7 separate regions of the Homo sapiens genome follow, and all the other regions are linked to region 7. The links are contacts of gene promoters, found by promoter capture Hi-C in blood cells and fetal thymus (Javierre and others, 2016). All regions are on one chromosome and are shown on one strand. The core of a region is centred on a gene start or on the middle of the fragment in contact, and the rest is flanking DNA. Distances in the headings are between cores, read along the strand shown. Region 1 holds the start of LOC124904788 (a long non-coding RNA gene). Region 2 overlaps ZNF8-DT (ZNF8 divergent transcript). Region 3 holds the start of ZSCAN22 (zinc finger and SCAN domain containing 22). Region 4 overlaps LOC124904784 (a long non-coding RNA gene). Region 5 overlaps ZNF274 (zinc finger protein 274). Region 6 overlaps ERVK3-1 (endogenous retrovirus group K3 member 1). Region 7 holds the start of ZNF583 (zinc finger protein 583).

Region 1 (3,606 bases), core at 155-2,654, 2.0 Mb before region 7:
AATACAAAAAATTAGCCAGACATGGTGGCAGGCACCTGTAATCCCAGCTACTCAGGAGGCTGAGGCAGGAGAATTGCTTGAACCCAGCAGGCGGAGGTTGCAGTGAGCTGAGATGGCGCCACTGCACTGCAGCCTGGGTGACAGAGAGAGCCTCTGTCTCAAAAAACACCAAAATAAATAAAATAAAATAAGAGGATATCTGCCTTGCACAGAATAGGGAACACAGGACAAAAGGAGAAGAATCTGAGCTCCTGTGCCGAGTGAAGCAGTGATTTACGAGGGTGCCACAAGTGTGTCCATCTCACGCTCTGCATATGATGTTAGCCATCCGGGATTCAGAGTCTAAAGGCTGTGCTGGACAGATCCATCTTTGTTCTGGAAACAATGAGATCTAGGGAGGGGACAGGAGGATTGTGCACTTATCACGTGTGAGGCTGAGAAACCTCACATCACATCACAATGAGGAAAATATTTATTTATTTATTTATTTTTGAGACGGAGTCTCGCTCTGTCGCCCAGGCTGGAGGGCAGTGGCCCAATCCCAGCTTACTGCATCCTCCACCTCACAGGTTCAAGTGATTCTCCTGCCTTAGCCTCCTGAGTAGCTGGGACTACAGGCATGCATCACCATGCCCGGCAATTTTTTTTTTTTTTTTTTTGAGACAGAGTCTCGTTCTGTCGCCCAGGCTGGAGTGCAGTGGCGTGATCTCGGCTCACTGCAAGCTCCGCCTCCCGGGTTCACACCAGTCTCCTGCCGCAGCCTCCCGAGTAGCTGGGACTACAGGCGCCCGCCACCACGCCCAGCTAATTTTTTGTATTTTTAGTAGAGACGGGGTTTCACCGTGTTAGCCAGGATGGTATCGATCTCCTGACCTCGTGATCTGCCCACCTAGGCCTCCCAAAGTGCTGGGATTACAGGCGTGAGCCACCGCGCCCGGCTCCCCCCCCCCGGCCTTCACCCCTCCCTCCCTCTCTCTCTCTTTTCTTTTTTTCCTTTTCTTTTTTTGAAAGAGTTTCACTTTTGTTGCCCAGGCTGGAGTGCAATGGTGCGATCTCGGCTAACTGCAACCTCCATCTCCCGGGTTCAAGTGATTCTCTTGCTTTAGCCTCCTGAGTAGCTGGGATTACAGGCACGCACCACCATGCCTGGCTAATTTTGTATTTTTAGTAGAGACGGGGTTTCTCTATGTTGGTCAGGCTGGTCTCAAACTCCTGACCTCAGGTGATCCATCTGCCTCGGCCTCCCAAAGTGCTGGGATTACAGGCGTGAGCTACCGTGCCCGGCCGTCCTTTGTTTTCACTTGCTATTCAATTGCTTGCTTAGGAGATGAATATTTATATATGCACGTGTGTGTATCTCAGCAAAGTCCACTGTTGTAAGCAGAATAATGGCCCCCTGAAAGATCTGCACGTCCTGTTTCCTAGAACCTCTGACTATGTTACTTCACAAGGCAAAAGAACTGAGTGTGATGAAGTTTTGGATCTTGAGATGGGGAGATTCCTGGATTATGTGTGGTTGGCCTAGTGTGATCACAAGAGGCAGAAGGGTCAGAATCCTATAAGGAGTATAAGGAGATTTGACAACAAACCCAGAAAGAGAGAGATGAACATGTCTTACTGCTGGCTTGAAGATGGAAGAAAGAAAAGTAGGTGGCACCTAGAAGCTGGAAATGGTCAGCAAACGTCCTCCCCAAGAGCTTCTGGAAGGAACCCACACTACTGAAACCTTCACTTAGGACTTACGACCTCCAGAACTCTGAGATAACAAGTTTGCACTGTCTCAAGCCACTATGGGGTGGCAGTTTGTTAAAGCAGCTTTAACAATAGATAACTAATACAGCCACAGTGTAATTTTAAAATAGTAATAGCAGGCGCCAGGCGTTGCTAATGTTCACACTTGCTTGAATGATCTGGGCTGCCTGTCTCCCTACTCAGCTGGTTATACTTACCGTTATCATACCCATTTTGTAGATGAGGCTGCCAGCCTTGAGAGCACCACCGTTACCTGGTTGAAGAGGGGAGGGGAAGTCCAGCATTGGCCTCTGCAGCGTGGATCTCCCGGCCAGGCTCTCAGCTGTCAGGTGAGTCTCACCTCACACCTCTCAGAAGACATGGACAATGGCAGTGAATGGAGCCAGGAGGACCCGGAGTGTCGGCTTGCCACTGAGAAACGGAGGGCAGGAGTAAGTGAGATTTTGGGGAGCTGGCAGCTGAGCAACGGGGGAGTCCCTGTTGCTTGGGGAAGGGGGACCAGGGAGGGCCTTAGCCAGGGGCACAGTGTTTTAGGAGCTAGTGTTGGGGAGGAACGGTGATGGCGGGCAGGCAGAGCCTGGGAAGCTGTTCTCTGGGGTCTGGGTGGTGACAATTTGAAGAGGGGCAGGACGGGCTGCCTATGTCACTCCATTTACCCTTTCGCATCTGCAGAGAGCTGGGGGCCGCCCAGTAGGTGCCAGCTGTGGGGTGGTCGCTCGTTGGCCCAGTTCTCCACTTCTCTCCTCCTGGGAACCGCCAACCTCCATTTCTTCTCTGCTCTTCCAGATCCTACAACCAGAACTCTGCGCCCCAGGATGGAGGCTCCAGCCCAGAAGGCTGGGCAGGGAGGACTCCCCAAGGCCGATGCCCAGGGTGCCTCCGGGGCCCGGGAGAAGAGGCCCGAGGAGCCGAGGCCCCTCGAAGAGGACCGAGCTGGGAGCCGCCCCACTCAAAAGGGGGACCTGCGTGGAGCGGCGGGCGGTAGGACGACTCCCCCAGGCGGGGGCTCCCGGGGCTGCAGCCTCGGGGTGAGCCCCGGCCCGGGGACCCGGCACAGCGCCGGGACCAGACCCCTCGTGCGGGAGCCGTGCGGCCCCACCTCTTCTCAGAACCCTGAGCTGGTTATCCCCGAGGGGCTGCAAGCCCGGGAGGGCCCCTGTAGGAGCCCAGCGCGTGGCGGGGACTGCAGCAGGAACTCCTGCCTGGCGTGGCATCGCGGGGCGCCCGCTGGGGAGACGCCACCCGTGTGTGACCCCTGTCCGGAGCGGATCCAGAACCACCCCCGGACTCAACTGTGTGAGGTCCACACGGACTGTTGGCCGTGCCAACCAGGGACTGGCGCTCCGACCTGCCCGAGGACCCCAAAGCCGACCTCCCGCGGGAGGAACCCCTTGGTGGAGCAGCCCCGGGCTTGCGCGTGCGGCGAGGCCTTTGCGTGGAGGGCCCTGCGGATCCCCCAGGAGAGGCTGCAGGCGACGGAGGAGCCCCGTCCGTGTGCCCGGTGCGGGAAGCGCTTCCGCCCCAACCAGCAGCAGCAGGCGGGCAAGAGTCCCCCAGTGTGTCCTGAGTGCGGCCAAACCTCGCGACCTCGCCCTATTGTCCCCGACCCCCCGGCCCAGCGACTGTACGCTTGCGACGAGTGCGGCAAGGCCTTCACGCGCACCTCCAGCCTGCTGCAGCACCAGCGCATCCACACGGGCGAGCGGCCCTACGAGTGCGCCGAGTGCGGCAAGGCCTTCGTGCGCTGCTCCGGCCTGTACCGCCACCAGAAGACGCACTCGGCCGAGCGCCACCGGCGTGGCCCCGTCCTGGCGCGGCGCGCCTTCCGGCTGGGGTGCCCGCCCTGCGGGGACT
Region 2 (3,245 bases), core at 720-3,219, 1.9 Mb before region 7:
GGTGGCTCACACTTGTAATCCCAGCACTTTGGGAGGCGGAGGTGGGCAGACCATGAGATCAAGAGTTCGAGACCATCCTGGCCAACATGGGGAAACCCCGTCTCTACTAAAAATACAAAAATTAGCCGGGTGTGGTGGCATGCGCCTGTAATCCCAGCTACTCGGGAGGCTGAGGCAGGAGAATCACTTGAACCCGGGAGGCAGAGGTTGCAGTGAGCTGAGGCCACGCCACTGCACTCCAGCCTGGCGGCAGAGCAAGACTCTGTCTTGGGGGAAAACAAAACAAAACAAAAACTGTTTAGGGTCTTCAGTGACTTTTAAGAGTGTGAAGGGGTCTTGAGACAAAAAACGTGAGACACACTTGTCTACAGAATAGGCTTTTTTTTTTTTTTTTGAGACAGAGTCTCACTCTGTCGCCCAGGCTGGAGTGCAGTGACACGATCTCGGCCCACTGCAATCTCCACCTCCCGGGTTCAAGCGATTCTCCTGCCTCATCCTCCCAAATAGCTGGGATTACAGACACCCGCCACCACGCCCGGCTAATTTTTTGTATTTTTAGTAGAGACAGGGTTTCGGCCTGTTGGCCAGGCGGGTCTCTATCTCCTGACCTGGTGATCCGCCCACCTTGGCCTCCCAAAGTGCTGGGATTACAGGCGTGAGCCATCGTTCCCGGCCTAGGCTTTAGGCAAGCTTTGGTATTTTGTATTCATGTTGATCATTTGATACAGAGTACTTATTTTTACTTAAACAGATGTAGTATTTTTATTTCCTCTTTGACCAAATAGCTGTTTCATATATATTCTAAAATACCCACAATTATTAATTTGTAATTTTGTTGTGCTATTAAAGTATATGATAATATGATTTTCTACTTTTTTGGTTTCTTTCTTCTTTTTTTTTTTGAGACAGAGTTTCGCTCTTGTTGCCCAGGCTGGAGTACAATGGTGCGATCTTGGCTTACTGCAACCTCCGCCTCCTGGGTTCAAGCGATTCTCCTGCCTCAGCCTCCCAAGTAGCTGGGATTACAGGCATGCGCCACCACACCCGGCTAATTTTTGTAATTTTAGTAGAGATGGGTTTCACCATGTTAGCCAGGATGGTCTCGATTTCCTGAACTTGCAATCTGCCCAACTCGGCCTCCCAAAGTGCTGGGATTACAGGCATGAGCCACCGCGCCCGGCCTTTTTTTCTTTTCTTTTCTTTTTTTTTTTGAGAAGGAGACTCGCTCTGTAGCCCAGGCTGGAGTGCAGTGGCACGATCTCAGCTCACTGCAACCTCCGCCTCCCAGGTCCCGGTTCAAGCAATTCTCCTGCCTCAGCCTCCTGAGTAGCTGGATTTACAGGCACGCACCACCACGTCTTTTAGTAGAGACGGGGTTTCACCATGTTGGCCAGGCTGGTCTTGAACTCCTGACCTCATGATTCTCCCGCCTCAACTTCTTCTTGATAAGAATTCTGGAAAATCAAATCTTCAAGGACTAACCCACTCCCTTTAAATCCAAGGGATTATTTTTATTTTTATTTTTAAAGAAACAGGGTCTCACTCTGTTGCCCAGGCTGGAATGCAGTGGTGCAATCTCAGCTCACTGCAGCCTCAACTTCTCAGGCTCAAGTGATCTCACACCTCAGCCTCCTGAGTAGCTGGAACAACAGGCGCGTGCCACCACACCTGGTTTTTTATTTCTTGCAGAGACAGAGTCCTGCCATGTTGCCCAGTCTAATCTCAAACTCACGGCCTCAGTTGATCCTTCCACCTGGGCCTTGGTCTGTTAGGATTACAGGTGTAAGCCACCACACCCATCCAACTCCAGGGGATTCTAGGAAGCCAAGGAACCTTCCTGCCCTGCCTGCTGAAATAAACTCAAACTGGCCAAACAGACAAGTCTGACATCTTTTCTTTATGCTTTTTTTTTTTTTTTTTCCTGTCAAGGAGTCTCACTCTGTTGCCCAGGCTAGAGTGTAGTGGGGCAATCTCGGCTCATTGCAATCTCCAACTCCCGGGTTCCAGCGATTCTCCTGCTCAGCCTCCCAAGTAGCTGGCATTACAGGCACCCACCACCACGCCCAGATAATTTTTGCATTTTTAGTGGGGACAGGGTTTCACCATGTCGGCCAGGCTGGTCTTCAACTCCTGACCTCAAGTGATCCGCCCGCCTCGGCCTCCCAAAGTGCTGGGATTACAGGCATGAGCCACTGCGCCCAGCCTGCTCTTGCTTGATTTTTTAAATTGTCAGATCACTAATACAGAGACACCGAATCAAAAGGAGAGTAGGACAGTTGTTCATAATCCCACAAATCAAATGCTTACCTCCTCATGTACCATTGCTTCTCTCACCTATAGGCACACATTTGAAATAATTTGTTAGTTATCCAAATAAGAAGTGAACCACCAGGGAATTAAATGCTATGGGCTTAAAAGGGAAAGTACTCATCTCCTGCCCCAGTCACTCATCCTCTCAGCCTCCCGACATCACTTTTTTTTTGAGATAGGGTCTCACACTGTCACATAGGCTGGAGTGCAGTGATATAATAACAGCTAACTGCAGCCTCAACCTCCTGGGGTCAAAGAATCCTCCCAACTCAGCTTCCTGAGTAGCTGGGACTTCAGGTATGTGCTACTATGCCCGGCTAATTTTTGTATTTTTTGTAGAGACCAGGTCTCGCCATGTTGCCCAGGCTGGTCTCCAACTCTTAGGCTCAAGTGATCCACCTGCCTCAGCCTCCCAAAGCACTGGGATTACAGGTGTGCACCACCATATCCACTGCACCCACCTCCAGCCACTTTTAACCATATCTGTTCCAATTCTTCTTGAGGACACCTCCGTAATTCTAATCTTTGATCATCTTTAGTCTTTTTTTTTTTTTTTTTCCTGGAGACGGAGTCTGACTCTGTTGCCCAGGCTGGAGCACAGTGATGCAATCTCAGCTCACTGCAACCTCCACTTCCTGGGTTCAAACGATTCTCCTGCCTCAGCCTCCTGAGTAGCTGGGATTACAGGTGCCCACCACCACGCTGGGCTAATCTTTGTATTTTTAGTAGAGACAGAGTTTCACCATGTTGGCCAGGCTGGTCTCAAACTCCTGACCTCAGGTGATCCACCCACCTCAGCCTCCCAAAGTGCTGGGATTACAGGCATAAGCCACCGCATCCAGCCAATCATCTTTAGTTTTCACTAACTTCCTGCTCTGACAGGTGAGGATCTGACTCACATCCGCTGCCAATTCCTCTCATATTACATTTCAAGC
Region 3 (3,175 bases), core at 571-3,070, 1.9 Mb before region 7:
TCATGAGGGGAAGGAGGAGCAAGGGTGGCAGGGATGACAATAGATGCTGCAACAGCTTCCAAGTTCTCTTTTGCACCCCTGGAACACCTGTTCTGGAGAAATCCCTCATGACGGTCTCTGAAATACATGTATGTGAAACTTCCTCAGCCTCCTCAGCCAACCTCAACTCCTATCAGGTTGAGGTTCCCCATCCACAGCTGCTTTACCAACCAAGGAGGGTGGTTCTTTTCATTTCTCACACATGGATTATACCAAGCCTGATAATGGTACCTACCTCAGAGGGTTGCTATGAGATTATGTGAGGTGATTTATTATAAGTGTCCAGCACAGGCCTGGTGCACAGTAAACATGCAGTAGATGTATGGATACCATAGCCCCCTGCTACACGTAAGCAAACACTGGGGGACATATCCATAAGCCCAGCTGAATGACCACTAGTCACTCAGTTTCAGCTGCAGACATGGCAAAGCACAAATCCTCTCTCATATGCTTGGTAAACTGTTTGTGGATCACCCAAGTTTTAGTCTCCCTGATAAAAATCTCAGTCAATCAGATATTAACACATATTATCTCAGGTACAGTCTGTCAGCCACAGCCTTCAAAATACCCAGACACAGGAAATATCTCAATGTCACCTATAATCAGTCAAATAAACACAGGCCTGGCCAGGCATGGTGGCTCATGCCTATAATCCCAGCACTTTGGGAGGCCTAGGCAGGTGGATCACCTGAGGTCAGGAGTTCCGGGCCAGCCTAACCAACATGGTGAAAGCCCGTCTCTACCAAAAATACAAAAATTAGCCAAGTGTGGTGGCCGGTGCCTGTAATCCCAGCTACTCGGGAGGCTGACGCAGGATAATCGCTTGAACCCGGGAGATGGAGGTTGCAGTGAGCCGAGATTGCGCCACTGCACTCCAGCCTGGGCAACAGAGCAAGACTCCGTCTCAAAAATAAACACAGGCCCTCGCAGCATTTCCATCACACAGTATTATTCTGATCACAGTCATTCATAATCTTAGTCACCATCTCAAGGACACACAAAGAAAATCAGTCACACTTGAAATCCCACCGTCACACGCTCACCCTCTCACAGTATCTCACAACCCACGTAGGAAGTCTCAAACGGCAACCATCTCTGTCAGTCACACACTCCATGGTTAGTGTTACACTCAACCTATCAGAATCACACACTCCAACCCGTCAGATACACACACCCAAGAGGTGTCAGACACAGAACCGCCTATCAGACACATAAACGGGTCCGCCCCACACCCTCCCAGGCCACTGGTCCTACATTTTATCTGTTATCTGTCCGCCCGCTCCACACTTCGTCCGCCCCACACCCGGTCAATCAGTCCATCCGACACACACTCCGTCAGTCCGACACATTCTCCGTCGGTCCGTCCGGCACTCAGTGTGTCATTCCGCACCACATTCGGTCCGTGAGTCTGTCCACACCGGGTCCGTCAGTCCGTGCACACACGGTCCGTCCACGCCTGGTCCGTCAGTCCGTCACATCCTCTGCGCGTGTGTCCGGCACTCGCAGTCCGTCTACTCACGTCCCCTAGTCAGCCTCTCACTCTCTACCCGCTGGGCGGTACCCCGCATCTCGCTCTGGCCGCCCCAGAGGTTCGCGGCTTCTGGACCTGCTGTGCCCCTCTCCAGCCTGGATCAGGACGGAGAACACCCCCGAAACCCACCTCACCAGCACAGCCGGCGGACCCTTCCGGAGGTGGCCGCAGAGACTAGCCAACTTGCGCGCCCGCCGACCCGGACCACAGCTCCCAGCACACCTCAAGGGCCCACGCCCGCCAGGACTACAATTCCCGGCGTCCTCCGGAAGCTCAAGTGTACCCAGGCGCGGTGCCTGCTGGGAATTGTAGTTGACGTTGGTCAGCACGGAGGCCACAGGATCCCAGCCCGGCCTTTGTGGGACTGAGGTGGCGCTGAGTGGGAGAGCAGCAGGCGATGCGCGAAAGGCGGGACTTGGAGGTGAGGGAAATGTGAAGGCTGAGGGTGAGAGTGCCTGTGTGAGGCTGAGGGTGCCTGTGTGAGGGTGAGGGTGAGGGCGGCTGTGTGAGGGCTGAGGGCTGAGGGTGCCTGTGTGAGAGCTGAGGGTGCCTGTGTGAGGCTGAGGGTGCCTGTGTGAGGCTGAGGGTGAGGGCGGCTGTGTGAGGGCTGAGGGTGCCTGTGTGAGAGCTGAGGGTGCCTGTGTGAGGCTGAGGGTGAGGGCGGCTGTGTGAGGCTGAGGGTGGCTTTGGGAGGGCTGAGGGTGTTTGTGTGAGGGGTGAGGGGTAAGGGTGAGGCAAGAAAATCGGGTCTGGAGGCAGGGAACCTAAGGACTTCCTAGAAGTAAATCAAATGGAAACTGCAGCTATGGTAGGAAATATCCTCTCCATTTATGCAGGGCGTACATGGAGTAAATCACTTTGTAACTTTACTTCGTCCTCTTCATTTACATAGGGCATATACCAAGTAACCAATGGAAACCTCTAGAGGGTATTTAAACCCCAGAAAATTCTGTAACCGGGCTCTTGAGCCCCTATGCTCCGGCCTGCTCCCATACAGTGGAGTGTACTTTCATTTTCAATACATCTCTGCTTTTGTTGCTTCATTCTTTTCTTTGTGCATTTTGTCCAATTATTTGTTCAAGATGCCAAGAACCTGGACACCCTCCACCAGTAACAAGGGTACCTGGGTGAGAGGTGAGGGTGCCCATGTTAGGAGTGAGGGGAGAGGGTGCCTGTCTGAGGGCTTGTGGGTGTGAGTGTCTGTGTAAGTACTGAAGGTGCCTTTGTGAGAGGTGAGCGGTGTGGTTGCCTATGTCAGGGTGTGTATTGAGTGTAGCTATGTGTGGCTCTCTGTGAACACATGTAATCATTTTTATAAATGTGTATCATTTTTTACTGAATTTGAGCTGGGCGTCTGTCTGCATGAGTCACTCTGTGACCAGGTTTGTGGGTTGTTCTGTGTGCTTACTCTGCGTGTGTGTGACCTGTGATTTAATCATCATATGTGATAATCATGCAGCTGTGTTTGCCTGCACCAGGTGTAATTGTGTCTGAGACAGATACTTAGAGGTAATGGGGTGGACCTGACACAGTATAAAGGCCCTAGACTGTGTGTGATGTTGTTACGGTGACTGTGAATGGTAGTGTGATTGTGTGATTCAGTCG
Region 4 (3,311 bases), core at 790-3,289, 1.8 Mb before region 7:
CCAAAACCCTGTACCACTTCCTGGTTAATATCTCCCAGAGTTAACCACTATCCTGATTATCATCATAAGTTTTTTTTCTGTCCTCAAACTTCATATAAATGGAATCATATAGTCTATGGTTTTCTGTGTCAACATAATGTGTTAGAGATTCATCCAAGTTGCTGCATGTATCAGTAGTTAATGTTTGGTAAATTGCTGAGTAGTATTCCACTATGGATGTACCACATTTTGTTTATACATTTTATTATTGATGGACTGCTGGGCTGTATCCAGTTTTGGCCCCTTATGACTAATGCTTCTATGAGTGTCCTTTTAGATGTCTTTTGGGGACATGGCTCATACTTCCATTGTAAGAAATTACTATTATGTTCTCTTGGGCAGTTTTTCCAGAAAGAATACAAATTTTGAATGCTAACAGGTCTGAAAATGCTTACTCTCTCCTCATATGTGTGAATGATATATTTGCTGAGCATCAAATCCTGAAATCAGAGTCTTTGTGTTTCTGGAATCTTCACTTATCTTCTAGTGTCCAGGGTTTCAGAAGAGAAACCAATGCTGCTTATACATACCCTGTGCTCTTTGTAAGGGATTTGCAATGAAACTTGTGAAGTTTGCACTAGTTTTGGAGTATGGGTACTTCACCAGACTATGATGTCTTTTTAACCCTGCCAAGACATTGGACATGCCCTTAGAAATGTGAAGATACGTACAACTCATTTTTTTTATTTTTTTGAGATGGAGTTTTGCTCTTGTCACCCAGGCTGGAGTGCAATGGCACAACCTTGGCTCACTGCAACCTCTACCTCCCGGGATCAACTGATTCTCCTGCCTTAGCCTCCCAAGTAGCTGGGATTACAGGCATGTGCCACCACACTCAGCTAATTTTTCTATTTTTACTAGAGACAGGGTTTCACCATGTTGGCCAGGCTTGTCTCAAACTCCTGACCTCAGGTGATCCTCCTGCCTCGGCCTCCCAAAATGCTGGGATTACAGGTGTGAGTCACCGTGCCTGGCCAACATACAACTCTTTATGATGCTTCTATTCAAGTAGATAGAAGAATGCTATTGGCAAAGTATTAGCAAGTTAGTATAAAGCTCTCTGATTTGTTTGGAGTGATAATATTTGGATTATGCAGAAAAAAATTGATAGCATATCCTTCAGCCCTCATCTAGGACTATCATAAAATTATACACATAAGGATCCCCATGATGCTAAAAGGTGTATGATTCCTGCACCATTCTTCAAGGTTGACGGTTCTTTTATTCATACGTGATGTAGAAAAATAGATACGCTGTTGCCATATGATTCCTGCACCATTCTTCAAGGTTGACGGTTCTTTTATTCATACGTGATGTAGAAAAACAGATACGCTGTTGCCACTGATAACATTTATGGGCAACCCGCTTGGGTCCCCTTCCACACTGTGGAAGCTTTGTTCTTTCGCTCTTTGCAATAAATCTTACTGTTGCTCACTCTTTAAAAAAAAAAAAATTTACATGTGATTACCTATGACAACCATTTCTCTTCTTTTCTTTTCTTTTAGACAGGGTCTCGTTTAGTCACCCAGGCTGGAGTGCAGTGGTACCATCTCAGCTCACTGTAGCCTTGACCCCCTCAAGCAGTCCTCACTTCCCAAGTAGCTGGGACTACAGGAATGCACCACCACGCACAGCTAATTTTTGTATTTTTATTAGAGACGGGGTTTCTCCATGTTGCACAGGCTGGTCTTGGACTCCTGAGCTCAAGTGATCCACCTGCCTTGCCCTCCAAAAGTGCTGGGATTACAGGTGTGAGCCTCTGTGCCCAGCCATGATTATCTATGGCAACCATTTTTTTTTTTTTTTTTGAGATGGAGTTTTGCTCTGTTGCCCGGGCTGGAGGGCAGTGGTGTGATCTTGGTTCACTGCAACCTCCACCTCCTGGGTTCAGCTATTCTCCTGCCTCAGCCTCCTGTGTAGCTGGGATTACAGGCATATGGGAGACATTTCTTTTTCTTTTTCTTTTTTTCTTGTTTTTTTTGAGACGGAGTCTTGCTCTGTCACCCAGGCTGGAGTGCAGTGGCACGATCTCGGCTTACAGCAAGCTCTGCCTCCTGGGTTCACACCATTCTCCTGCCTCAGCCTCCTGAGTAGCTGGGACTCCAGGCGCCCACCACCACACCCAGCTAATTTTTTTTTTTTGTATTTTTAGTAGAGACGGGGTTTCACGGTGCTAGCCAGGATGGTCTTGATCTCCTGACCTCGTGATCCACCCGCCTCGGACTCCCAAAGTGCTGGGATTACAGGCGTGAGCCACTGTGCCCAGCCGCATATGGCCAGACATTTCTATGAGACATTGTTCATCAGGCCTAGACCCTGAGTCCCCATTAAATGGTGTTTCTATGGCAAATTAGGGACATATGTAGAATAGAACTGCTTATCCCTGCTGATCTGTGGCTGCAGGGAGTCACAAGTTTGCAGTCTTGTTACATTCAGATACTTAAGAGTTAAAAAATAACTGGTGGCTTTTGCCTCCTTTATCCCTGATGTCAAATAAAATGGAATTCCAACCAATAGCTTTTCCACATTGATCTTTTTTCAATGAGTTTTTCTAATTTGTTTGAATTTCCTGGTGTCAAATAAGGTAAAAGCCATGGTTGAAAGCTTGCCAATACTGACTGCATTCATAGTGTTCTCCAGTATGAGTCCTCTTACGTTCAATAATATGAGAACAACTCCTGAATGCTCTTCCACGCAAATTACATGTATGGGGTTTTCCTCAGTATGAGTCCTCTGATGTCACATCATAAGGGCTAGGCTACGTCTGAAGCCTTTCCCACGATGACTGTATCCATCACTTTGCTCTCCAGTGTGTCTTCTGTGATTTTTGAGTAGTGGAGGAGCAAAGTGTAAAACCTTTCCCTGAATGATTCCCTTCATAAGGTGTCTCTATAGATTCTTAGCTATAGGGTAAAAGTGTTCACTTCTTTAGAAGAATTTCCTAAATTCACTGCAAATATATAATTTCCCACAAGTATAAATTGTCTCATATTGAATAAGGTATAATTTGTGTCTACAGCCTTTGCTACAGCGATTACATTTATAGTATTGTTCTCCTGTATAAGTTCTGAAACATACTGAAAGAAATATTTCTTAATAAAGACTCTCCAACACTCAACACATTTGTAAGGTCTATTTCCTGAGAGAGTTTGCTCATACATCAGTGGGGTTGAGCTCTGTTTAAAGACTTCTTTACACATACTACATTTATATGGTCTCTCTCCAGTATGACTTCTCTGATGTCAGAAAGTATTTACCATAAACAGGGATTT
Region 5 (3,111 bases), core at 290-2,789, 1.8 Mb before region 7:
TAAGGCTTGAATTTTTCCTGAGAAGCAGCTGGGGATAAGATTTACTGGAGGCCCAGCAGCACCGGACTAAGTGCCTAGGACATGGGACATGCACCAACTGAATCTGTACTTCCTGGGGGGGGGCTAAGTGGCAGACCAGCACTGGGCCACCAGTACTATTTTAGGTAACCATGCATGACACTTAAACATCTTAAACGTTACTTCATAAATTTCTAAAATTTCATTTTTGTATTCCTTAATCGAGGGATTTTCATGCCTTGGCCCCTAGGAAAACAACTGTTGGATTCTTCTACTCCACCCCACCCCTTTCTAATGTACTTACTTCTGCTTTAATCTTTATTATTAACCCATGAGGCCCCACACTCTGTTCTGTACACAGTTATCATAAAGCACCTTTTGCATGCTGTGGAACCAAGGACACCACAGTGAACAGAGAGACCACAAACCCAGAAACTGGTGAGGAAGTGATGGACTCATTCTGTGCACCTCAGTCCTCCAAATGTCAACCCATAGACTATCCCAAGACCTTTAGGGCAATCCTTACCACTGTCTATTGCAGGAAATTAGCTGCTCCACTTCATGGAGGAGAAAATGGAAGCTCTTAAGTTCACCACCAGGCAGAGGTGGAACTGGATTCTCATTCCACCCATCTCATTCCACAGACATGACTGACCCAACCCACTCATGTGGAGCTGCATAATCCCTATCAGCTGGAGCTCCAAATGGCTTTCAGTCCAGCAACTGAATGAGCCCGTAGCAATGTAGTCACCTCACCTACAACTGTCTGTCTAATGGGTTGTGAAACAAATTCACTGAGGCTCAAAGCAAGGGGTTTAATCAAGAGAGATTAACTTCTTGAGCCTGAGTTTCTTCACCCAAAGTGATGAGATACCAAAGTCCAGGCACAGCATGTGGTAAGGGCTTGATGGGAGCTGCTGCTTTCTCCCTCTTGACACTATTTTCTTCTCTCAGGATACTTCTACCTCTCTGCTGCTTCCCTTCCAGGGTGACAAACAGGCCTTAGGCAGCTGTCTTCCTCACAGTGCTGTTTGCCAGTGAATGCTGATTAGCCAGGTATACCAGTCCAAAATATAACGAAAAGCAATGATCTTTTTAGCAGCTTGTGGGGGAAAAGTCAGAAGAGTACTTACCCTCAGCTCCCCTAATCCCTGGGCACAGTACCCCATCACTTTTCCTCCTTGTCTGGAAAGCTCTCAGCTCTCCTGTTCTCTCTCATCATTCCCTCAGTGCCCCTAAGCTCCCTGTTGGATTACCTTCTGCATCTGTCTCCTCCAGTGTACCACTGAGGCTGCCAACTGGGACTTGTGGATCTCACACCCCTAAGTAGAGGATCTGCCAAAGGCTGCTGATCATCTTTACGTTACTCAGTTTTTGAATCAATGACAGTACCATCATTTCACGAAGGCTGCCCACAGTCCCAGGAAGCAAATGTACACCATACACAAAAGAAATATGCCTGGTGCGGTGACTCATGCCTGTAATCCCAGCACTTTGGGAGGCCGAGGTGGGCAGATCACAAGGTCAGGAGTTTGAGACCAGCCTGGCCAATATGGTGAAACCCCGTCTCTACTAAAAACACAAAAGTTAGCTAGGCGAGGTGGCGGGCACCTGTAGTCCCAGCTACCTGGGAGGCTGAGGCAGGAGAATCACTTGAACCCAGGAGGTGGAGGTTACAGTGAGCTAAGATCACACCACTGCACTCCAGCCTGGGCGACAGTGCAAGACTCCATCTCAGAAAGAAAAAAAAAAAAAAGAAATTCATGCTGGGATAGGCTAGGAACCCTGCCCAGGGTTGCAGAGTGGATGATCCGGTTTGGTTCTGTGTCCCTACCAAATCTCAGGTTGAAAAGTGATGCTGTGTTGGAGGTGGGGCCTGGTGAACCTTCAAGAATGGCTTAGCACCATCCTCCTGGTGGTTAAGTTAATCACACGAGATCTGGTTGTTTAAAAAAGTGTGGCCGGGCAGAATGGCTCACGCCTGTAATCCCAGCACCTTGGGAGGCTGAGGTAGGTGGTTCGCTTGAGCCCAGGAGTTCTAGACCGGCCTGGGCAACATGGCAAAACCCCATCTCCACAAAAAAAAAAAAAAAAAAAAATTAGCCAGGCGTAGCGGCATGTGCCTGTAGTCCTGGCTACTCAGGAAGCTGAGGTGGGAGAATCGCTTGAACTCAGGAAGTCGAGGCTGCAGTGGGTCATGATCGCACCACTGTACTACCGCCTAGGTGAGAGTGAGACCGTGTCTCCAAAAAAAAAAACAAAACAAACAAACAACAGTATGCGGCACCTTCTTCCTCTCTCTGGCTGCTGCTTTTCCCATGATGTGCCTGCTCCCTGCCTTCCACCATGAGTAAAAAGCTCCCTGAGGCCTCCCCAGAAGCCAACCAGATGCCAGTGCCACCCTTGTACAGCCTGCAGAACTGTGAGCCAATTAAATCTCTTATCTTCATAAATAACCCAGTCTCAGGTATTTACAGCAATTTAAGAACGGCCTAACATAGTGGGCAACAAAGGAGCCGGGTTCCAAACCCTGTTATTTCATGTCCTTGACGCTAAAGGGGTCTCCCACAGCCACCATCTTAGTTTTCCTAGAATATGGCCTTTCATCCAGAGATCCACATGTGCACCACCCTCCTGCCTGGTATAGTCTTCCCCAACATCTTCGCCTGGTTCACCTTCCCCAACATCTTCACCTGGTTCGCCTTTCCCATTCAGGTCTGAGCTCAAACGTCACCTCCTCAGAACCATCTTCCTACTTAGTTCTGAACTACTGCTGCCCACCCGTACCTCGCTTGTCCCCCACCAATGTATCCCATTGTTTCCTTCTCTTTCCAACACTCATTACCATCCCAAATATCTGATTCATTAATTTATCATGTCTATCACCCTATCTAGAGCAGTGCTGTCCAATGGAACTTTCTATAAATGAGATGTTCTAGATCTGTACTGTCCAACATAGTAGCATTAGCTGCAGGGCCAATGAGCAGTTGAAAGGTGCCCAGTGCAATTGAGGTACTGAATGGGCAACTTCATTTTTGTTGATCCAATCAGCCATGGAATGGATGTAGGCCCAATGAAAGCAGGTGTAAGACC
Region 6 (3,478 bases), core at 909-3,408, 1.9 Mb before region 7:
TAGCCTAGGAAAAACCAGGCCATACAGAGATAGGAGCTGAGGGGACATAGTGAGGTGTGACCAGAAGACAAGAGTGCGAGCCTTCTGTTATGCCCAGACAGGGCCACCAGAGGGCTCCTTGGTCTAGTGGTGACGCCAGCGTTTGGGAAGACCGTGGTCTAGCGGTAGCGAAAAGTGTCAAGGAACAACACCCGCTACTTAGCAGACCGGGAAAGGGTGGGGGGCGGTCTCCCTTTCCCTGGGGGAGGTTAGAGAAGACTCTGCTCCTCCACCTCTTGTGGAGGGCCTGACATTAGTCAGGCTCGCCCACAGTTATCCGGAGGCCTAACCGTCTCCCTGTGATTCTGTGCTTCAGTGGTCACGCTCCTAGTCCGCCTTCATGTTCCATCCTGTACACCTGGCTCTGCCTTCTAGATAGCAGTAGTAAATTAGTGAAAGTACTAATAGTCCCTGATATGCAGAAATAATGGCGTAAGCTGTCTTTCTCTCTGTCTCCTCTCCCTCTCTGCCTCGGCTGCCAGGCAGGGAAGGGCCCCCTGACCAGTGGACACATGACCCACGTGACCTTACCTATCATTGGAGATGACTCACACTCTTTACCCTGCCCCTTTTGCTTTGTATCCAATAAATAAGAGCGCAGCCAGACATTCGGGGCCACTACCGGTCTCCGCGCATTGGTGGTAGTGGTCCCCCAGGCCCAGCTGCCTTTTATCTCTTTGTCTTGTGTCTTTATTTCTACACTCTCTCGTCGCCGCACACAGGGAGAGACCCACCGACCCTGTGGGGCTGGTCCGTACACTCTTGATAGTGGCAGTTTTAATGCAACTAGCTACATTTACGACATAGGCTGAATTACAGACAATATTAATAGGAAATAAAGCTGTGAGCTTTAAAACTTGAATAACTGCCATTAATTCAGAGTGTTGAGCTGAAACTCTAGGGGTCTTTATTATTTAAGTATATTTAGGTCCATAAATGGCTGTGTGGCTTTTGGAAGAGCCATCGGTAAAATAGGTCTGTCCACCTGAAATGGGTTTGTGATGAGCAATCACAGGGGGAATAAAAGGGTGAATTTTATAAAACTGCAAAATTTTGTCTGATGGATAATGGTTATCTATTATTTCTACAAAATCTGCGAAAGTGATTTGCCATGCAGTGGACATCTCCCAGGCCGCAGCCTGTTGTTGGGAATCCAAGGTAACAATAATTTTATCAGGATCATATCCTGTAAGCATTTTTGATCTATGCCTGCCTATTGTTATAAGTTGTGTGACTAAAGCAAGATAAACTTGCAAAGATTTTACTGTTTGACTGGATAAAAAAAGCCATTCTATTACCATTATAGTTTTGTCTATGAATTGAGCTAAAAGTCCTGATGGAGAATGGGGGGTAGGAAGAATAAACAAAACCAAAGACTTTTGTGGTTGTAGCCAGGAGGCATGTCGTTGCTGAAGCATCTTTCTACAAGCTGTAATTCAGCTTCTGCCTCCTTAGTAAGTTGCCGAGGGGAATCTAATGAAGAATCTCCTTGGAGGGTTTGATAAACATGAGTGAGTTGATAAGAAGCAATACCTAGCATTGGGCGCAGCCAATTAATATCCCCTAAGTTATTCAGAGTTTGTAATTTGTTCTTACGAAGAGCTACTTTCTGAGGCTGAATACTTTTTTCAGTAACAGTAGTATCTAAGTATTGGTATGAGGAGGTTGTTTGTACCTTTTCAGGAGCTATTTTGAGATTCCATTTAGTTAAAGCCCATTTTATTTCTCTGAATAACTGGTATAATACTTGATCTGTAGGAGTGGCCAAAACAATATTATCCATATAATGAATGATGTAGGTGGTGGAAAACATATTCCGAGGCTCCTTCAATGCTTTTCCTACAAAATGCTGACATAACGTAGGACTGTTGAGCATGCCTGGGGTAATAAAACTTTTCATTGATCACAAGAGACAGGCTCTCTCTGATTAATAGAAGGCACAGAGAAGGCGAATTGAGGCTTGTCCTTCTTGTGTAATGGTATAGTGAAAAAACAGTCTTTAAGATCTATTACTACAAGAGGCTAATCTCTTGGAATGGTTGCCGGGGATGGCAGACCTTGCTGTAATGCACCCACTGGTTTAATTTGTGCATTAACAGCTCTCAAATTATGCAGCAGTTGCCATTTTCCTGACGTTTTGGGGGTCACAAATACTGGTGAATTCCAAGCACTAACTGATACTTTTATATGTCCTGCATCCAATTGCTTTCTTACCAGCTGATGGAGTTGAGTCAGTTTTCTCCTGTGATAGGGGCCATTGATCCACCCACACAGGTTTATCAGTCAGCCACTCTAGCAGCAAGGCAGTGGGTGGAGAAGAAGTATCAATGACCCCTATCAGAAATCCTGATGACCTAGCCCTTTCCTATCTGTTTGCCCAGTTACCGATACCGGACCGGGGTTTCCCTGTAGGAACTTTCCCAAGCCTTTCCCACTCTGATATCCCATTTCCTTCAATATTTTAAATCCTGGATTATCAACCTTTTCATTTGTAAGTCTCACATCCCATGCTGTAAGTAAATCTCAGCCCCAGAGATTAACACGTATATTTGCAACATAAGGTTGAAAAGTACATGGCTGTCCATCTGGACTGACACAAAGTAAAATTTCAGCACTCTGTTAAACACTTTGAGCTGTTCCTACTCCCACTAAGGATGCAGAGGTTAGTAGCAGGGGCCAATTGTTTTTGGATATTACTGAAACATCTGCTCCTGTGTCCATACACCCACAACACTTCTTTCCTTTAATTTGCACTGCACAGGTGGGTCAATTAGAAGCTATGGGTTGGGATAGGTAAATTTCCTGTGTAGTTGTACTCCCAAATTCTTGATTTCCTCTTTTCTCCTTTCGTGAAGAAGGGTGTAATTTGCAGAGAATAATAATAAGCAATAGCTGAGCAATATATTTCCCAGGTTTAAAAACCCAAAGATCTTGTGACATTACAATTACTTGAATTTCTCCTTCATAATCAGAGTCAACAATCCAGGGATCACAGTAATGCCCTGTAAGTTCAGATGGCTTTGGCCTAAAATTAATCCTGTATATCCTGTTGGCAAAGGTTCCCAAATGCCTGTGGGAATTCTGGTGGGTTTGTCTCCTCCAACTAACGTGACCCATTCTCTGACTGAGCGATCTAATCCTGCACTCCCCGGTGTTCCAGAGGAGAGGGAGTCAATGTTCCTCCAGGAACCCACCCCTGTAGCAGGGTTGTGGCCTGGATGGGGAATGCCCTCATTGTTTGAGGGGCCCAGGCCCCATTCTCATTTCCTGAGAGCGGGGTGCCATTCTGATGAAATTTTGAGCAACACTGATTAGCCCAATGATTTCCTTTATTACGGCGAGGGCAAAGTCCTGGTGTTTTTTTTTCTGTGTGTGTGTGTTGGGGGGAGCGGGGCGGGGAGGGGGGGGCGGTATTGCATTGTAAGATCCCTTCTGCCCA
Region 7 (3,359 bases), core at 843-3,342:
ACACATGAAGGCTCTTCATCGGAGTAATTATTCAAGGCATCATGGTAATAATTAAGCCAAACTGGAAACCAGTTCTAACTTTTAATTCTTTCCACCCGATCATGATGTTGAAAGGAAATATGTTCCCACCCTTTCTGCAAGGATGACAGATAAAGCTACAAAGTGAAATTTCTCAGAGAAAGCATCTCTATACACAGAGTGAGTATCAGAGGGTCCATGTAGTGTGGTGGACACTCGATCAAAGAGTCAAGACGGCCTACTTCTGGTCCTGGCTTATGACAACCCACAACTGAAAACTAATCTCTTGACTTTTCTGGGCAATCTCCTCAGACAGAAAGAAGGAGAGAGGGAGGGAGGAGCAGGCTATGCTTGAACAGTCATCCAAACCCCCTATGGTGAATTCTTGTCCAGCAGACCTCACTGCCTTGAAGAATAAAGCCATTACCTATGAAGTGGCATAACTCAGTGGTAAGAACTACTAGGCTTAAGGATCAGAACACCTGGTCTCAAACAGCCAAACCACCACATGCTACCTATACAACCTCTGGCAAGTTAGGTAACCACTGCAAACCTGTTTCTCTATCAGTGAAATGGTAACTATTCCCTATCAATTGTTGGGAGGATTCTGAAATGATCTACATAAAGCATTGAGCACAGTGCTTAATTTTCATCTTTCTGTCATTTATTTTCATAACCAGCACATGGTAGGTCTCCCATTCCTTTTTCCTTTTAAATTCCTCACGTGCCCCCAGAGACTGAGAGGGATGGAAAAACTACTGTGCCAGAGGACAAGCAGCCAGCGTGGTCAGCTTTTCAGGCTTAAGGCTGAGGCTCCTGTCTGTCTCTCCCTTTTCAGCTCTCGTCCCTCCCTTTCTCCATCTTTTCCCCTTTATCTCAATCTTTCTGTCTCTCCACCACAACAGCAGTCTCCCAAACCCCAGAGCACACCAGCATCTCCAAGCACCCACACAGCTTCCTGCCCACACAAATCACAGACAACAAACCACATAGTTTCTCATTCTGGCACCTCCCCTGGCAACCTATGGACATGCCCCCACATTGTAGCCCGCCCTGCTCTCACAATGGGTCATATAAGGCCATTCTCAGTCACACTGTCACACTCACTGTCGGGATGACATACAGTGCTAAGTCACACCATCTCCCTCAGTCTCACATAATCACACACACTGTCATGCACAATCTCAAACACTGTCACATACAATCTTAGTCCAACAACAAAAACTCTGTTCACATACAGTTTCACATACAGTGACACAGTCTCACACACTGTCACACAAATTCTGTCGCAGTTTCATGTGGTCCCATATCAACAGCCACACACCGTACACAACCACACATAGCCTCACACACGGTGACATGGTCTCACATACTGTCACAGTCTCATCTAATCCTACACACACGGTCAAGCTCTGTTCACAAAGTCACACACACTGTCACACAGTCTTACATTATCCCACACACACAGGTCACACACACAGTGACATGGTCTTACACACTGTTCACACGTGGTCTACACATAATGACAGTTTAACACTGTCACACATTCCCAGTCTCACACATGGTGACGTGGTCTTAAGCACATACAGTGTCACACAGTCCCACACGGTCCCATATACTGTCAAAGGCTCCCGCATACACCGGGGCAACGGTCTCATACTGTCGCACACATTCTCACACCCAGTCTCATACTGTCACACATAGTCCCACATTTGTCCCACATGGTCTCACACTGACACACATATTCACACACGGCCTCACATTCTCACACTGTCACACACGGTCTCAAATTCTCACACAGTCACACATGGTCTCACACACGATTCCACACTGTCAAACACATTGTCACACACGGTTCCTTAATGTCTCACACATTCTCACACACTGTCACACACGGTCCCACACATGGTGGCATGGCCGCTCCCGGCGTCAGCTCCATCCCGCGCTCCTCACCGCCTCCTCCCTCCAGTGGGCACCTCCTTCGGCGCGGTCCTTGGAGGCCGGGGCTGGGCCAGGGCCCGGGCCAGGGCTCGATCCTGGCCGGCGGCCGCGCTCACAAAGGCGCCGCAGCCCTAGGGCAGGCCGCAGGGGCCGCTGGGAAATGGAGTCCGGGGCCGGCGCGGCGCAGAGGATGCTGGGATGTTGGCCGAGGGCCCCGGGCGGCCGCAGATCCCGCCGCTCAGTTGCGGGTAGTTACTGCTGCGCCCCTTTCCCTAGTAAGCCCACCTCCGCTGGCCTTCAGAATCCCACCCGGACCAGCTGAGCCCTCTCAGGCCGTTCGACTGTCCGCTCCCCCACCCGTTCCACCCGTTCCACCTGCGCAGGCGCAGCTGGTTCAGGTCCCCAAAGGCTGCCAGGCCGGGGTGCCAGCGCGGTGAGGCGCACGCGCAGTGACCGCGTCCGCGCTCCAGCGCTCCGGGTGGGGCTGTGAGTCCATCGCTGAGAAAAGGGAGCTGGAGGACCAGTGTGGAGCCTGAGCCAGCTGGAGAGGGGCCCGGTAGGATGTACGTGTGATTAAGCGCTCTGGCGGCCCGGGCTTTCTCTTTCCCTTTCTGTTTCTTCTCTCTCCGCCTTGCCCTGTCTTTCATTCGCCACTTATTGAGCGCCTGCTGTATCGGGCACTGTCGTGGGCCCTGGGCACACAGCAGTGAACAAGCAGACAAAATCCCCACCTCATGGAGCAGCATTCTAATGCGGGAGGAATTCAATAGGAAAAAATTAATAATAAAGGACACTGATGCATATTGGGAAGTAATGCGTATTATCAAGAAAAGCGAAGCAGAGTATTAAGATCATTCTTTCAGTTCTTCATTCTTTCAGTTATGCCCTCTGAATCAGTGGAAAAAACGCAAGGTGCATTTTTTTCTATTATCTCAACGACAACTAATCATAACAGAAGACTTTTCTGACCAAATATAGGGGAGTTTCCCACACATCTCAAGCAAGCAATGAGTTCAGTGAGTTCTGCAGCGGGCACCAGCTGGGTGTCCTCCAGTTTAATTCCGACGCCGTCTACTTGGAGATGGGTCAGACACCATTCGCTGAGGGCTCAGTCCCCAAGCCTGCCTCCCCCTTCCCACTTCCCACTAAAGTCTAGCCTCTGGAACATCTGACTCCACCACCTTCAAATTGGGATTTTCACCACCCCCTCTTTGCGGTTCGATATTTTGCTAGAGTGGCTCACGGAACTCAGGAAACACTTATGTTTACTAGTTTATTATAAAGGATATTACAAATGATATAGATGAAGAGATGCGTAGGGCAAAGTACAGAAAAAAGGGTGTTGCACCTTCCAGTAACCTCCACATGTTCAGCTGGGTGGAAGCTCTCTAAACCCTGTC

What was found. Contacts are between HindIII fragments. The CHiCAGO score rates a contact against its expected background, and 5 or more counts as called.
Region 1: a contact is called between a fragment that was not itself captured here and the fragment with the promoter of ZNF583 in region 7, in 1 of 17 cell types (neutrophils). The highest score is 5.9, in neutrophils.
Region 2: a contact is called between a fragment that was not itself captured here and the fragment with the promoter of ZNF583 in region 7, in 1 of 17 cell types (neutrophils). The highest score is 6.4, in neutrophils.
Region 3: the fragment with the promoter of ZSCAN22 here is called in contact with the fragment with the promoter of ZNF583 in region 7 in 1 of 17 cell types (neutrophils); the score reaches 7.2 in neutrophils.
Region 4: a contact is called between a fragment that was not itself captured here and the fragment with the promoter of ZNF583 in region 7, in 2 of 17 cell types (total CD4 T cells and total CD8 T cells). The highest score is 5.4, in total CD4 T cells.
Region 5: a contact is called between a fragment that was not itself captured here and the fragment with the promoter of ZNF583 in region 7, in 2 of 17 cell types (non-activated CD4 T cells and neutrophils). The highest score is 7.2, in non-activated CD4 T cells.
Region 6: a contact is called between a fragment that was not itself captured here and the fragment with the promoter of ZNF583 in region 7, in 1 of 17 cell types (neutrophils). The highest score is 5.3, in neutrophils.

Annotation. Positions count from the first base shown.
Region 1 is chr19:58,368,294-58,371,899 of GRCh38, reverse strand. ZNF837 (zinc finger protein 837) reads left to right here. Exons shown (of 3, transcript NM_138466.2): 2 at 1,972-2,081; 3 at 2,539-3,606. The coding sequence starts at 2,568. It overlaps LOC124904788 (a long non-coding RNA gene), which reads right to left and starts at 2,093. Exons shown (of 2, transcript XR_007067364.1): 1 at 2,006-2,093. The HindIII fragment of the contact is 6,674 bases long and covers 1-3,606 here.
Region 2 is chr19:58,270,839-58,274,083 of GRCh38, reverse strand. All of the region lies in intron 1 of ZNF8-DT (ZNF8 divergent transcript), which reads left to right. It also overlaps a transcript of ZNF544 not described here. Among named protein-coding and RNA genes, the nearest start is that of ZNF8-DT, 6.3 kb to the left of the region's middle. The HindIII fragment of the contact is 2,554 bases long and covers 693-3,245 here.
Region 3 is chr19:58,325,639-58,328,813 of GRCh38, reverse strand. It overlaps ZSCAN22 (zinc finger and SCAN domain containing 22), which reads right to left and starts at 1,820. Exons shown (of 3, transcript NM_181846.3): 1 at 1,700-1,820. LOC105372480 (a long non-coding RNA gene) reads left to right here and starts at 1,566. Exons shown (of 3, transcript NR_144444.1): 1 at 1,566-1,991. RefSeq lists enhancers at 1,520-1,849, 1,193-1,935. The HindIII fragment of the contact is 13,061 bases long and covers 1-3,175 here.
Region 4 is chr19:58,166,362-58,169,672 of GRCh38, reverse strand. All of the region lies in intron 1 of LOC124904784 (a long non-coding RNA gene), which reads right to left. Among named protein-coding and RNA genes, the nearest start is that of ZNF274, 15 kb to the left of the region's middle. The HindIII fragment of the contact is 1,212 bases long and covers 1,434-2,645 here.
Region 5 is chr19:58,200,178-58,203,288 of GRCh38, reverse strand. All of the region lies in intron 4 of ZNF274 (zinc finger protein 274), which reads right to left. Among named protein-coding and RNA genes, the nearest start is that of ZNF274, 19 kb to the right of the region's middle. The HindIII fragment of the contact is 4,047 bases long and covers 1-3,111 here.
Region 6 is chr19:58,307,577-58,311,054 of GRCh38, reverse strand. All of the region lies in intron 2 of ERVK3-1 (endogenous retrovirus group K3 member 1), which reads right to left. All of the region lies in intron 5 of ZNF8-ERVK3-1 (ZNF8-ERVK3-1 readthrough (NMD candidate)), which reads right to left. Among named protein-coding and RNA genes, the nearest start is that of ERVK3-1, 3.9 kb to the right of the region's middle. RefSeq lists a silencer at 58-352. The HindIII fragment of the contact is 5,065 bases long and covers 1-3,478 here.
Region 7 is chr19:56,403,065-56,406,423 of GRCh38, reverse strand. ZNF583 (zinc finger protein 583) reads right to left here and starts at 2,092. Exons shown (of 5, transcript NM_152478.3): 1 at 1,972-2,092. RefSeq lists a silencer at 1,859-2,068 and an enhancer at 2,529-2,668. The HindIII fragment of the contact is 8,045 bases long and covers 1-3,359 here.